Linked DNA regions of Homo sapiens: region 2 is linked to region 1. The links are contacts of gene promoters, found by promoter capture Hi-C in blood cells and fetal thymus (Javierre and others, 2016). All regions are on one chromosome and are shown on one strand. Each heading gives the region's core, a stretch centred on a gene start or on the middle of the fragment in contact. The rest is flanking DNA. Distances are from core to core; before and after follow the strand shown. Region 1 holds the start of TADA3 (transcriptional adaptor 3). Region 2 holds the start of RAD18 (RAD18 E3 ubiquitin protein ligase).

The links. The method cuts DNA at HindIII sites, captures the fragments that hold promoters and counts their contacts. A CHiCAGO score of 5 or more calls a contact.
Region 2: a contact is called between a fragment that was not itself captured here and the fragment with the promoter of TADA3 in region 1, in 4 of 17 cell types (fetal thymus, total CD8 T cells, naive CD4 T cells and 1 more). The highest score is 6.4, in fetal thymus.

The regions. Positions count from the first base shown.
Region 1 is chr3:9,789,369-9,796,061 of GRCh38, forward strand. It overlaps TADA3 (transcriptional adaptor 3), which reads right to left and starts at 3,105. Exons shown (of 9, transcript NM_006354.5): 1 at 2,848-3,105; 2 at 1,892-2,125; 3 at 345-595; 4 at 141-246. The coding sequence starts at 2,098. It overlaps ARPC4-TTLL3 (ARPC4-TTLL3 readthrough), which reads left to right and starts at 3,180. Exons shown (of 12, transcript NM_001198793.1): 1 at 3,180-3,756. The coding sequence starts at 3,754. It overlaps ARPC4 (actin related protein 2/3 complex subunit 4), which reads left to right and starts at 3,714. Exons shown (of 6, transcript NM_005718.5): 1 at 3,714-3,756. The coding sequence starts at 3,754. It also overlaps a transcript of OGG1 not described here. RefSeq lists enhancers at 1,432-1,932, 3,037-3,563, 3,490-3,589, 3,564-4,090, 4,290-4,379 and silencers at 2,920-3,009, 3,070-3,359. The HindIII fragment of the contact is 10,858 bases long and covers 1,685-6,693 here.
Region 2 is chr3:8,958,864-8,963,725 of GRCh38, forward strand. RAD18 (RAD18 E3 ubiquitin protein ligase) reads right to left here and starts at 4,609. Exons shown (of 13, transcript NM_020165.4): 1 at 4,472-4,609; 2 at 57-138. The coding sequence starts at 4,522. RefSeq lists an enhancer at 4,457-4,626. The HindIII fragment of the contact is 1,072 bases long and covers 3,077-4,148 here.

The DNA of each region.
Region 1 (6,693 bases), core at 1,855-4,354:
CTGGAGGCACTGATGGAGCAGACAGCAGACTGGGCAGGGTTGGGGAAGGAAGATGATGCATGGCTTTGGTAGCTTTACTTCTCAGGCACCTCTGAACTCTCTTGTTCCGCATCATGTCTATCAAGGCCCAGAGTTTCTACCTTGTAATGCTCAGCCTCATCTTCTGGGGGCTTCAGTAACTCCTCAAGTGTGCGGACCTCCTCGCTGGTGATGTCAGCACAGTAGGGCTCCACTGAAGCCCAGAACCTGCAGGGAGAAGCAGATCCTGAGTGGGCGCCCCTGCCCCACCAGTGCCTCCACCACCAGAACCTTGAGGCCCCCTTCTATGTTCTCTAGCCCAGAACCTGTTGGGGGCATCATTTTTGGGGATCCGTGGCACGTCGATAGGGTCATCAGTGAATTCATATTCCTGGATCTTGGGCTGAAGGTTTTTGGATTTGGGCCGTCCTGGGCCAGGGCCCGGCCCATGTCCTGCCTTCCCTTCCAGTTTCTGCTTCTTGGGCTTCCCATGTTTGGGGGGAGCTCCAAGTTCATGGTCTCGACCCAGCTTCAGGAATCGTCTGTCACCTTTCTTATCCTGCCAGTCGGTGAGGATCTGAAATTTACAGAAAGTGTCACTGAGGGGGAGAAGGGAAAACACAGAATATCTCTTTCCTCTAGTGAATAAATTAGGATCTAGAATCTACAGAGGCTCCTGGGTCTTTCCCCATCCTCTTTTTACCTAGTAAACTCTTACTCATCCTTCAAAATTCAGCTCATTTTCTGTGCCTGGCCTCCTAGAACTTTATTCATATACTTCTCATAATCTCATTCACTTGTTCATCTATACTGATTCACTTCTGTATCACCCATGCCAGTCACATACTGTTTAACAGAAGAGTCCTCTCAGCAAACCTTCACTTCGATGTCACCACTACTGAGATGCCTTCTCTCAATCAGTTACCCAGGTTCTTAGATGCTAAAATACAACTTGAGTCATAGCCTTCCTCAAGGAGGGTCCATGGATTCCCAGGGACAAGTTAATTCCATTCATCCTTTTAGGTCCAGTTGGCACCTCCTTCCTCCACAAGTCTCTGGCACTTCACAGCTCCAACGTGCACCCAATCGTGTTGTTTGGTCACACTGGAATGACCATCACACCTTGTCTCTTCAACTAGACCATAAGCTACTGAGGACCAGAAAGCCCACCTTAACCATCTCTATTTTGCAGAATACAGCATAGCGCCTGGCACACAAGGCTCAAGGCATCTTTATGCAGTGAATAAAGTCATCAGAGTAGCAAATAAATAACATCTGAAGTACTTACTTAGTGTCTGGCATTGGGCTGAGTTTTTGCAAAAAATTCTCTTTTAATCCTCACAAAAGCACTAAGGTAGGTCCTATTATTCACCCCACTTTGCAGATAGGGAAACTGACACTCAGAGATATGAGGCAACTTTCTCAAAGTCACATAGCTAGGAAACAGCAATGCTAGCAAGCGCTTATGCCAGGATTCAAATCCAGGTTTCCCCATTCCAGTTCCCTAGGACTGCTAACCACAACATCACATCACCTGGTATGTACTTGACTTTCTCACTTTCCTAGTTGCCAAGCTCCCTGACAGCCATAACTGTCCTAATTACCTTTCTCTAATGACTAGCATAGGACCCAGAACACAATGGGGGATGAGTGGGGTGCCAATAAAAGCTTACTGAATTAGAAATCTTGCAATTTAAGAGGATCATGCATATTCTTGTGTATTTTTTGTGTCATGCAAACCCAGTTTGCGTCTCTCTCCCTCTCCCCACAAACCCCTGTACCCCAAGTCTCAGCATATGGGGCTAACTCAATGACCCATCCCATAACTTGTTGCAGTCCATCTCTGGTGCTGGCCCCTCTCTGGGGTTATCACCTGGGTTTCGGCCTCAAGCACACGCAGGCGCCGGCTGGCAGAAGACAGCAGGGTCTCCAGCTCCAGCTGCAGGGTGTCCAGCTCCTCGATGCCGATGCCATCATCCTCAGAGCGTGCCAGCACTGCCGTGTAGCGGGGACAGACCTTCAGGTGATCCACAGACTTGAAGTCGTGGAACTGCAAGGGGCAGTCTTTCAACTCACTCATGGCCCAGGATATGGGGATCCTGTGGAGCTGGAGAGGACAGGGCCATTGATGGGAGACAAAGTGGTCTGAGAAAAGCCCAAGGGCTTCTTACCTCCAGGGACAGCCTCAAGGAAGCCCAGCTTCAGTCCCTTACTGACAAAATTGATGGCACAGTTCCTACTCACAGGGCACTTAACTGGGTACCAAGCTAGGTGCAGAGCACTTTATCAGTTTATCTCACTGAATTTCTCACTCAGCACCATGAACAAGGACCATTGTGATCTCGTTTTTACAGAGAAAGAAACTGAGACTCTGTAAGGGTGGGTATGTGCCTATGCTTCCAAGATGCAATTTGAACCCCGCTAGTCTTGAGTCTGCACCCTGATCACCATGCTATACTGCTATGCCTTGCCTCGCCTTTCTGATGCTCTTTCCTTCCCTTCTATTTCTCTTGGGTTCTGCTAAGACTTTGAGTTCCAAGCACCCCATTCTTACCATGTTCTCTGGGACTCTTGGCCTCTTTTCTTACCCTATTCCACCTTTCTCCCTTCTCTAGTCACTAACAGTGGTTTAGAACGTGGGCTGGTAAGCCAGACAGACCTGGGTTCAAGCCCAGGCTTTACCATTCTCTACTTATATGCCCCTGAACATGTTATTTGACCTTTTTCAGTCTCAGTTTTTCCATCTGTAAAATGGGGACAAAAGAAGTCTCGGTCTGTTTCCCCATTAAAAGTCTGAATCTGAAAAATGGGGATAACAATAGTACCTACCTCCCTGGGATGTTCTGAGGATTAAGAGATGATGCCCGTCAAGAGCCCAGTTCAGTGTCTGGCACAGAAGTGGGACTGTTTAATGGCTGGCCCCGCCCGGGGGTCGCCCAAATGTCCCGCCTTCAGAGTCCTCGTTCTCTAGGGACACCCTAGTGCGACCCCCGCCCCCTCTACCTCCTCGCTGCGGCCTCCTACGGCCCCAGGGGCCGCGGGAGGGGGCGGGGAGTTCCGGTCGATGTGAGCAACCGCCCCGGAACTGGCTATGGGCGGGCCCCTTGCAGTTGACGCGGGGGCGGGGAGTCAGCGAGGGCGAGCCTACTGGAGTTTGCCGGGGGTGGGAAGAAGGTGGGCCTCGAGCAAAGCCGCTAGAGGTGGGGTGCGGGTGGTCGGCCTCAGGCGAGCCCCGGGGCACAGCCCGGGGCGGGAGGCGGAGCTTGGCGGCCGAGATCTCCGCGCTGCAGTTAGCCCCGCCGAGCGCCAGGAGCTGCGGGTAGGAGGGGCGAGAGAAAGGATGGGGGTACAGAACCGGAAGAAACGAAGGGCTCGTCCGCTTCGGCTTGTCCTAATTTGGTGCCCAATCTGAAGCTGGGCTGTACCATTGCATACCTGGGGGAGGCTGTGGCAAAGGTGACAAGAAGGCCGAAGGCACAAAGGGAAGCTGCACCCATTCCTGGAGGAGCTTAAATAGTGACTCGAGTGCAAGAATTTAAAAATACCGAGACAGCCCTAGGTGGAAAACTTCCGGAAGGCCCAAGCGTTCGTAAGGGCTCTCTACCCCGCTCGGAGCATAGATGGTACCGTCCGGAAGTCCGGGCGGAGACCGTAGCTGCGCTTCTCGCGAAAGGGCAGGCATCGCGGGGCTGGCCACTTCCGTACTTCCGCTTTCCGGCCCAGCCAGCGCCCGCGATGGTGAGAGAGCCGGGCCCCCGGCCAGGGACCCCCGGCTGTTCGGCCTCAGGGCAGTGGGTCGGTGGGAGATGTGGCTTTGCCGCAGGGGCGCGGGGCCGAGGGATGTCCGGGGGTTGTGGGGACACGATGAGGGTGGGAAAAAGAGACGGGGCGGGGGCCCGAGGTGAGGAAGGGGCGAGTGGGGGTACTCCCTGGTATGAAGTGGGCCTTGTGGCTTCACGGTCAGCCTTCGAAGCAGGTAGGGGCTTTTCCTGAGCCCTGTAGGAACCCGGAAGTGGGGTCTCCTAGGCTCTTTGGAGCATTTCGAGGGTACGTAGTCGGCCTCTTAGCCTCTGAGGCATGAAGCAAGTCCACCTGCCTATCCACAGTGGAACTTCACGACATACGCCCTTTGTCCTCTTCTGCCTTCCTGACCCTACAGTTGCTTAAGGCAGGCGGCCACACTTCCTTATCCCATTCTTGGTACCTCCAGCCCTGCTTCCACCCCATTGGAGGATCTCTCGTGTTGCTTCCATTCAGGCCCTTCCTGGTCAGAACTGAACTGTGTCAGCCTTAGTGTATGTTAGCTGTGATACTGCTCATCCCTCCCTTCCTGGAAGTCCTCCCTTTTTCATACATGTGGGCCTTTTTCATACATGTGGGCCTTTTTCATACGTGTGGGCATTCCTGGGAGTTGTGACTTTGGATGACCATCTCCCTCTTCGTCACACCTTCCCTGGTGATACCGATCTAGTCTCCTGGCTTCGATAACTTTCTTCATTCTGATGACTCCTAATCTGGCTTCTCAGCTCTCTTTCAAGGTTTGCCTGGATATCTTGAAGAGACCTTGAAATTAGACCTCTAGTTCAAAACTCATATTCTATTCTAAATTTGTTCTTCCTCCTGGGTTCCCTATCCTGGCAAACTTTTGTGACCTCATGTCTCTGCTAAAAATCTGTATTTTTTTTTTCTAGTGGGGCACATGCCTCTTGATTTTTAAAAGTTCAAGTTTATTGAGGTATTACATGAGACTACATCTGTTTTATTCATGAAAGGACAGGCGTCACGGAGCCAGTCACCCTTTTTAGGTTTACTTTCTATAACTGTTGACAAAGGCCAGGCGTGGTGGCTCACGCTTGTAATCCCAGCACTTTGGGAGGCAGAGGCGGGCGGATCACGACGTCAGGAGATCGAGACCATCCTGGCTAACACGGTGAAACCTCTTCTCTACTAAAAATGCAAAAAATTAGCCGGGCGTGGTGGTGGGCACCTGTAGTCCCAGCTACTCAGGAGGCTGAGGCAGGAGAATGGCGTGAACCCAGAAAGCAGAGCTTGCAGTGAGTCGAGATCGTGCCACTGCACACCAGACTGGGCAACAGAGTAAGACTCCGTCTCAAAAAAAAAAGCGTTGCAAAAACTTGCTGGGTATGGTGGCATGCGCCTGTAGTACCATCCGCTCAGGACACTGAGGCAGGAGGATCACTTGAGCCCAGAAGTTCGAGGCCGTAGTACACTGTGATCACTCCTGTGAATAGCCACTGCACTTCAGCCTGGACAATATAGCAAGATCCCGTGTCTTAAAAAAAAAAAGTCAAGTTGTGTAACCACTACTGCAACCAAAATACAGAACATTTCCGTCACCCCAAAAAGTTCCCTCAAGCCCTTTTGTAATCAGTCCTCTCCTTCCCACCCCAGACAACTACTGATTTTTCCCCCCTGTAGTTTTGCCTTTTTCAGATTGTCATGTAAATGGAATTCTTTAGTATGCAGGCTTTTAAGTGTGGCTTCTTACCATAATACATTTGAGAGTCAACCATGTTGTGTGTATCAATAGTTACTCTTTTTTTATTACCAAGTAGTAGTTAATTGAATGGCTGGACCACAGTTCGTTGGAAGTGGTTTTTCTTTTTCTTTTTTTTTAAGACACAGTCTCGCTCTGTCACCCAGGCTGGAGCACAGTGGCGTGATCTCGGCTCACTGCAACCTCAGTCTCCTGGGTTCAAGCAATTCTACTGCCTCAGCCTCTCAAGTAGCTGAGATTACAGGCACCCGCCACAGCTAATTTTTTGTATTTTTAGTAGAGACGGGGTTTTGCCATGTTGGCCAGGCTGGTCTTGAACTCCTGACCTGAGGTGGTCCACCCACCTCGGCCTCCCAAAGTGCCGGGATTACAGGCGTGAGCCCCTGGGAAGTTTTTTTTCAGTTCCATTATCCACTCCATCTAATGTCAGTCCAACGCTTGTGATACTCTTTGCTTGTGATACAGTCTGCTGTATGTCTCACTTCCCTCTCCAAATCATTCTCCACAGAGCCATCATGCAGCTGCAGTCATGAACTTCCTCCTCAGAAAGCCCCAGTAGTTCCTTACCCCCTTAAGAGAAAAGCTAAACTTGGTAGCCTGGCATTCAAGATTCCCCATGATCTTACCTCAGCCTACCGCTGCAGCCTCATTTAGTGAATCTAAAATGCTTCTCATATACAGAAACATTGTACTCATTACTACTCTGGAACTCTTGCTGTCCTTTTGTGTTACTCTAATCTTAATTATTTCTTTCGCTTATTTATTCTACAGGAAATGAGTGAGACACTGTATATGTTAGGTACTGAGCTAGGTTGGAGGCTATATAGCTGTGAATAAAATAGATATGGTCTGTTGACCATGAGGTTTACAGCCTAGTAAAGGAGAAATCACTTACAAAGGCATGAAGGAGGGCAGGTGCAGTGGTTCATGTCTGTAATCCCAGCACTTTAGGAGGCCGAGATGGGCGGGTCACTTGAGGTCAGGAGTTTGAGACCAGCCTGGCCAACATGGCGAAACCCCATCTCTACTAAAAATACAAAAATTAACCAGGCACGGTGGTGCACACTTGTCATCTCAGCTATTCGCATGGCTGAGGCAGGTGAATCACTTGAACCCGGGAGGTGGAGGTTGCAGTGAGCCAAGATTGCACCACTGCG
Region 2 (4,862 bases), core at 2,363-4,862, 830 kb before region 1:
CACTACCTCATGTAAAAATCGCAATTTACTAACTCACAGGAACAAAACATACTTACAGTTATGTGAACACTGAGGTATTATCATTGCAATGTTGAAATACTCGAAGCAAATTCCACACCGCAGCAAATCATCTATTGTCTGAAATGCAAATATGCATATATACATATCAGAAAGACATCAAAATTGGAAGTCCTGTCACAAAACTTTTTCTCTATCCCCTAAAAAAAAAATCAAACTCTTTGTCAAATACACAAATTCAAAAGCTAACTCCAGATAAACTGCAAGGGATCTTGACAAATAAATAAAAACTTCTCTCATATGACTCTTATACATTCAGTCTCAGGTTGCCCAAATTGCTTTAGACAGCTAAAGATGATGGCACACCGATTCTTGTGCCATATTGTCATCCCTTCACATAAGGGCTACTGTACTTCTGTTCCACTTCTAATGCGCTTCCAGCTCTTACTCCAAGCCTCCTCCTCTTCAGACTCCAACACCTAGCCTATAGTCACTATTGGGTGAAAGGTGGCCATTGCCACCACACAAGTTAAGAATCAAATCAAAGAATGTTAAAGCCAAACTCCAGAAACTGTCTAGTCAAAAGAGGAAACTGGTATCAAAAGCAGGCACACAATAGTAGGCATCAGTCAAGCCAAGACCAAAATTCCTGTCTCCCGTCTGGCAGTCCAGTGCTTTCGGCATGGTACTACACATGCAGCCAAATGAGGAAGCCTGGAAAGAGCTGGGGCAGTGAAAGCAGAGGAAGGGAAAGTGGACAACTTGGAAAGAGAGATGTGTGCCAACCTGGAATGCAATCCAAACAGGAACGGAACTACTCTGGCAACCTAAAATCTTTCAAATTGTTTAAAATAAAATATTATTCCATTCAACAGAAATATTTTTTAAAAGGAGGAAGCTCTCGACGGGAGGATCGCTTGAGTCCAGGAGGCGTAGGTTGCAGTGAGCCCACATCGCACCACTATACTCCAGCCTGCATGACCGAGTGAAACTGTCTCAAAAAAAAAAAAAAAAAAGAGGAAGCTCTCCATCATACTGATATGAAAAGATTGCCAAGATAAGTGAAAAAAGGAAATAAGGTATAGACAGTACATATACTATGCTACGGTTTGTTTAAAAGGAAGAGGTGAGTAAGAATGTATTCTAATAGGCCTAGCATGGTGGCTCTGTAATCCTAGCACTTTGGGAGGCCAAGGCAGGAGAACTGCTTGAGTCCAGGAGTTTGAGACCAGCCTGGCAAAATAACAAAAATCCATGTCTATAAAAAATTTAAAAATTCGTTGGGAGTAGTGGCGCATGCCTGTAGTCCCAGCTACTCAGGAGGCTGAGGCGGAAGGATTGCTTTAGCCCAGGAGTTCAAGGCTGCAGTGAGCCGTGATTGCCACTGCATTCCAGTCTGGGCGACAGTGAGACCCTATCTCAAAAAAGAAAAAAAGGAAAAAAGAATGCATTCTATTTTCATTGTAAATGTAAATAATGAGAAGATAAACAAGAAGTCATAAATAATGATCAGGGCCAGGAACATGGTAAGAAGGAGACTTTTACTTTTTATTTTATGTGTATTTTGAACCATGTGAACCTATTACCTGAATTTTAAAAATGTAAACAAAAAAGGACTAATGTCGCTAATGGTCCATATGATGAAATATTATGCAGCCATTAAAAAACATGCTTTCAAAGAATAATTAATGCCCTAGGAAAATAAAAATCAGAAAACAAACCTATGCCAATAATACATAATAATAACAACTCTGTAGTTTAATCTTCATAGCAATCTTATGAAGTCCACAGCATCAGTATCCCAATTTTAAAAATAAAGTCTACAGAGTTCCTAAGTTGGCTGGATCAAACCCAAGAAGTTGACTCCACAGTGATCCCAAATTTTAAATGCACAAAAACCAAAGGAAAATAAGGTAAAATGTTAAACACTGGTTCTCTGGGTGGTAGAATTATGGATGGTTTTATTTTTCTCCTTTATCTTATTCTGAATTTTAATTTTTTTCTACCGTGTACACATATTACATTTACAATATGCCAAAAACAGTAAATTTTTGTTAAAGTAAAACCAGGGAAATAATAAAATGCCAAAATCTTCCATTATTGTGGATGGTAAGCTGTCACAGACACAAAAATCTAAAGGGTTATGTTCAAGATCAATTAAGAGCAGAGGCAGGCCCAGAAGCCAGAACCAGTCTATTATATCACACTTTCTTATCTATGCCATCCTCTTCTGGTGGAGGAATGATTCTGAAAGATCTGCAGAGCACAATTGTGGAAGTTGACACTACATCAGATGAGCCATTTCTGGTTCAAATTTCTTGTCATGTCACTCCAAGACAGTAACATGCATATCACATGCGCCTCAACCAACTAAACAAAAAATGATGCCTGAATAGAGAGTGGTCAGCAGACTCCCCAAAATTTCTTTAGTTTAGAGAGAGAGAAAGTGAAAGGGAGAAGTAGAAAATGGGTGGAAAAACGTAATAATTACAAAAATACTCTTAAGTTTTTGGGGTTACAGATCCCTTTGAAAAATGGATGACAACTATGGACTCTCTGCTCAGAAAAACATACATGCAAAAATTTTACAAATAACTTGAGACTCCAAAGTCTTTCTGTGAATCCTAAGTTAGCAACCATGGATTCTGAGTCAGACTTCTATTCAATAAAAGAAGTAACTTCAGTCAGATCTGCTTCTGGGATCTGATAGTTCTTTGTGCCTGGAAGAGTTCAAGCAAAAATTAGGTGAGAAATTGGCAGATGTGTTATAAAGGAGATTAAAATACTGAAAGGGGCTGGTTTTCTAACCTTAAGATTCCATGATTCCAATGTGAGCAAAAAAATACGGGCTCAATCAACTCTCTGGTTGAACACTCACTGAACGCTCTGTGGTGCCAAACTCTACATTCAGTGCTGTGGTGAGATACCAAAGTCAGAGAAGACATGGAACCCGCCTCTAAAGAACACTGAAATTGTGGGAATATGTAAAGTGTGCTTAAATCTACAAAGCAGGAGCTTTACAGGTTACAGAGCTCTTTTACTTTCCTTATCCAAGTCAAGCTTCATGACAACAAATTAAAAGGGGAAAGAAGCACTTAACACAGTGCTAATAATAATAAAATATATTCATTGAATGCTTACTACATTCCAGATACTTTCAATCAAGCAGCAAATAATATTTGAGCACCCACTTGGTGTCAGGCACTGCAGTAAGCACAGTGAATACACAGCAGAATCTGTGCCCACATACATCAACTAATTTATTTAATCAATCCTATGAACTGTTATTTTTGTCTCTAATTTATAGTTGAAGAAATTCAGGCTCAGAGAGGTTAAGTTACTAACCGAAGGTCATACAGTCAAGAGGCAGACAGGAGATTTCACCCAGGACCACTGGAACTCAAATCTGTGCTCTTCTCCACTGCATCCTGGTGCCAAGCCCACAACTCCAAAACTACAGCTTTCCTGGATCATTTCACAATGTCAGCTTCTCATCATGCAGATATCTCAAGTCCCCAAGCACTCTAGACGTCACTGATGACAGCAGGAAGAACAAGGCCTTCTACTTACTTTAGCCTTCACTTAATTCTAAAGTCAAATTTATGAGTCAGTGGGACAGGTATTATAATCCCCAAGTCTACAAAACTGAGGGAGAAGAAGGCTATCTTAGCCACTGTGAGAAACGGAAATAATCACAGAGCAAGAAGAAACACCAAGCAACTGATCTTTATCCAGCACAGCAAAGTGCATCTGCTCTTGAGCAAATCCAGGGCCCACCACTACTGTAAATGGAAACTGGTATGCCTTGCCAAAACAGAAAGTGGCCACAAAAATAAATGTTATTTAAGTGAAATAATCAGACGCAATGCAAGATCAGCGCTGAGCCTGAGTCCTGATCTCTGTTTAAGAGACATGAGCAATTGTTAGAGAAGAGTGAAGGTGTGTTAGAGAGGAGTTGGGGCAGTATGTCAGAACAAACGAGCACTACGTTTATTGAGAATAATCAGAAGAAATGAAAGAGCCTGTAAAGGAGACTACCTGCTTGGCTACGTGATTACATACATGTTATCTGATAAAGTGTCCACCCAAAATCATGTCCGGTGTCACTGTTTAGTGCTTGACACAAAGTAAGCTTTCAGTAAAGAACAGCTGTCGATGTCATTGTTTGGAATAACTGTTTTTCTCCATGTTATTGTTGGGATTGGATCGCAGAATAGCTGGTGCCATAAGACTGCCAACCTCAGCTCACCAGGCTTGTCCTTGTCACTTATCAGAGGAGTAAACTGAGACCCAGAGCCACGCGGTCGGCTAGTGGCAGGGCAGAGCCGGATACCCGGGCCCAGTGCGACGCTCGCGCCTCATCCTTTCTCCTTAAGGCGAGGACATCCTCCTCAAAGGGAGGGACCTCCCCCCGCAGACACCCGGGAGCTCCCAAACTCCCCGAAGCACTCACCTTCATGACTGCCAGGCCCGGAGGCCACCGAGACTCGGCCAGGGAGTCCATGGTCGCTCCCGAGGATGCTGGGGGTCAGCCACCCACTAGCCTCCGGCGCTCCAACACCACTCGAAATTCCCCGCGCTACCGCATTACGTCAGCAGCCCGCGACGCGCCAGAGGCGGGCGCGGAGCCTGCCGGAAGTTGTAGTAGTATGTGGGCGGGGCGCCGCTTAAGGGCTTGTACTGCGCATGCGCCAGGCTTCTGCCGCACTTACCTTGAAGAAAGTGAATGGTTAAAAAGCGTAGAGCCAGTTGAATATTAAGAAAAGATAGCCAGGAATCAAACCAAATCCAGACCTCACCAGATCTGTCAAGGTCCAGGCTCATGACCCCCCTCCGGGTCGCCC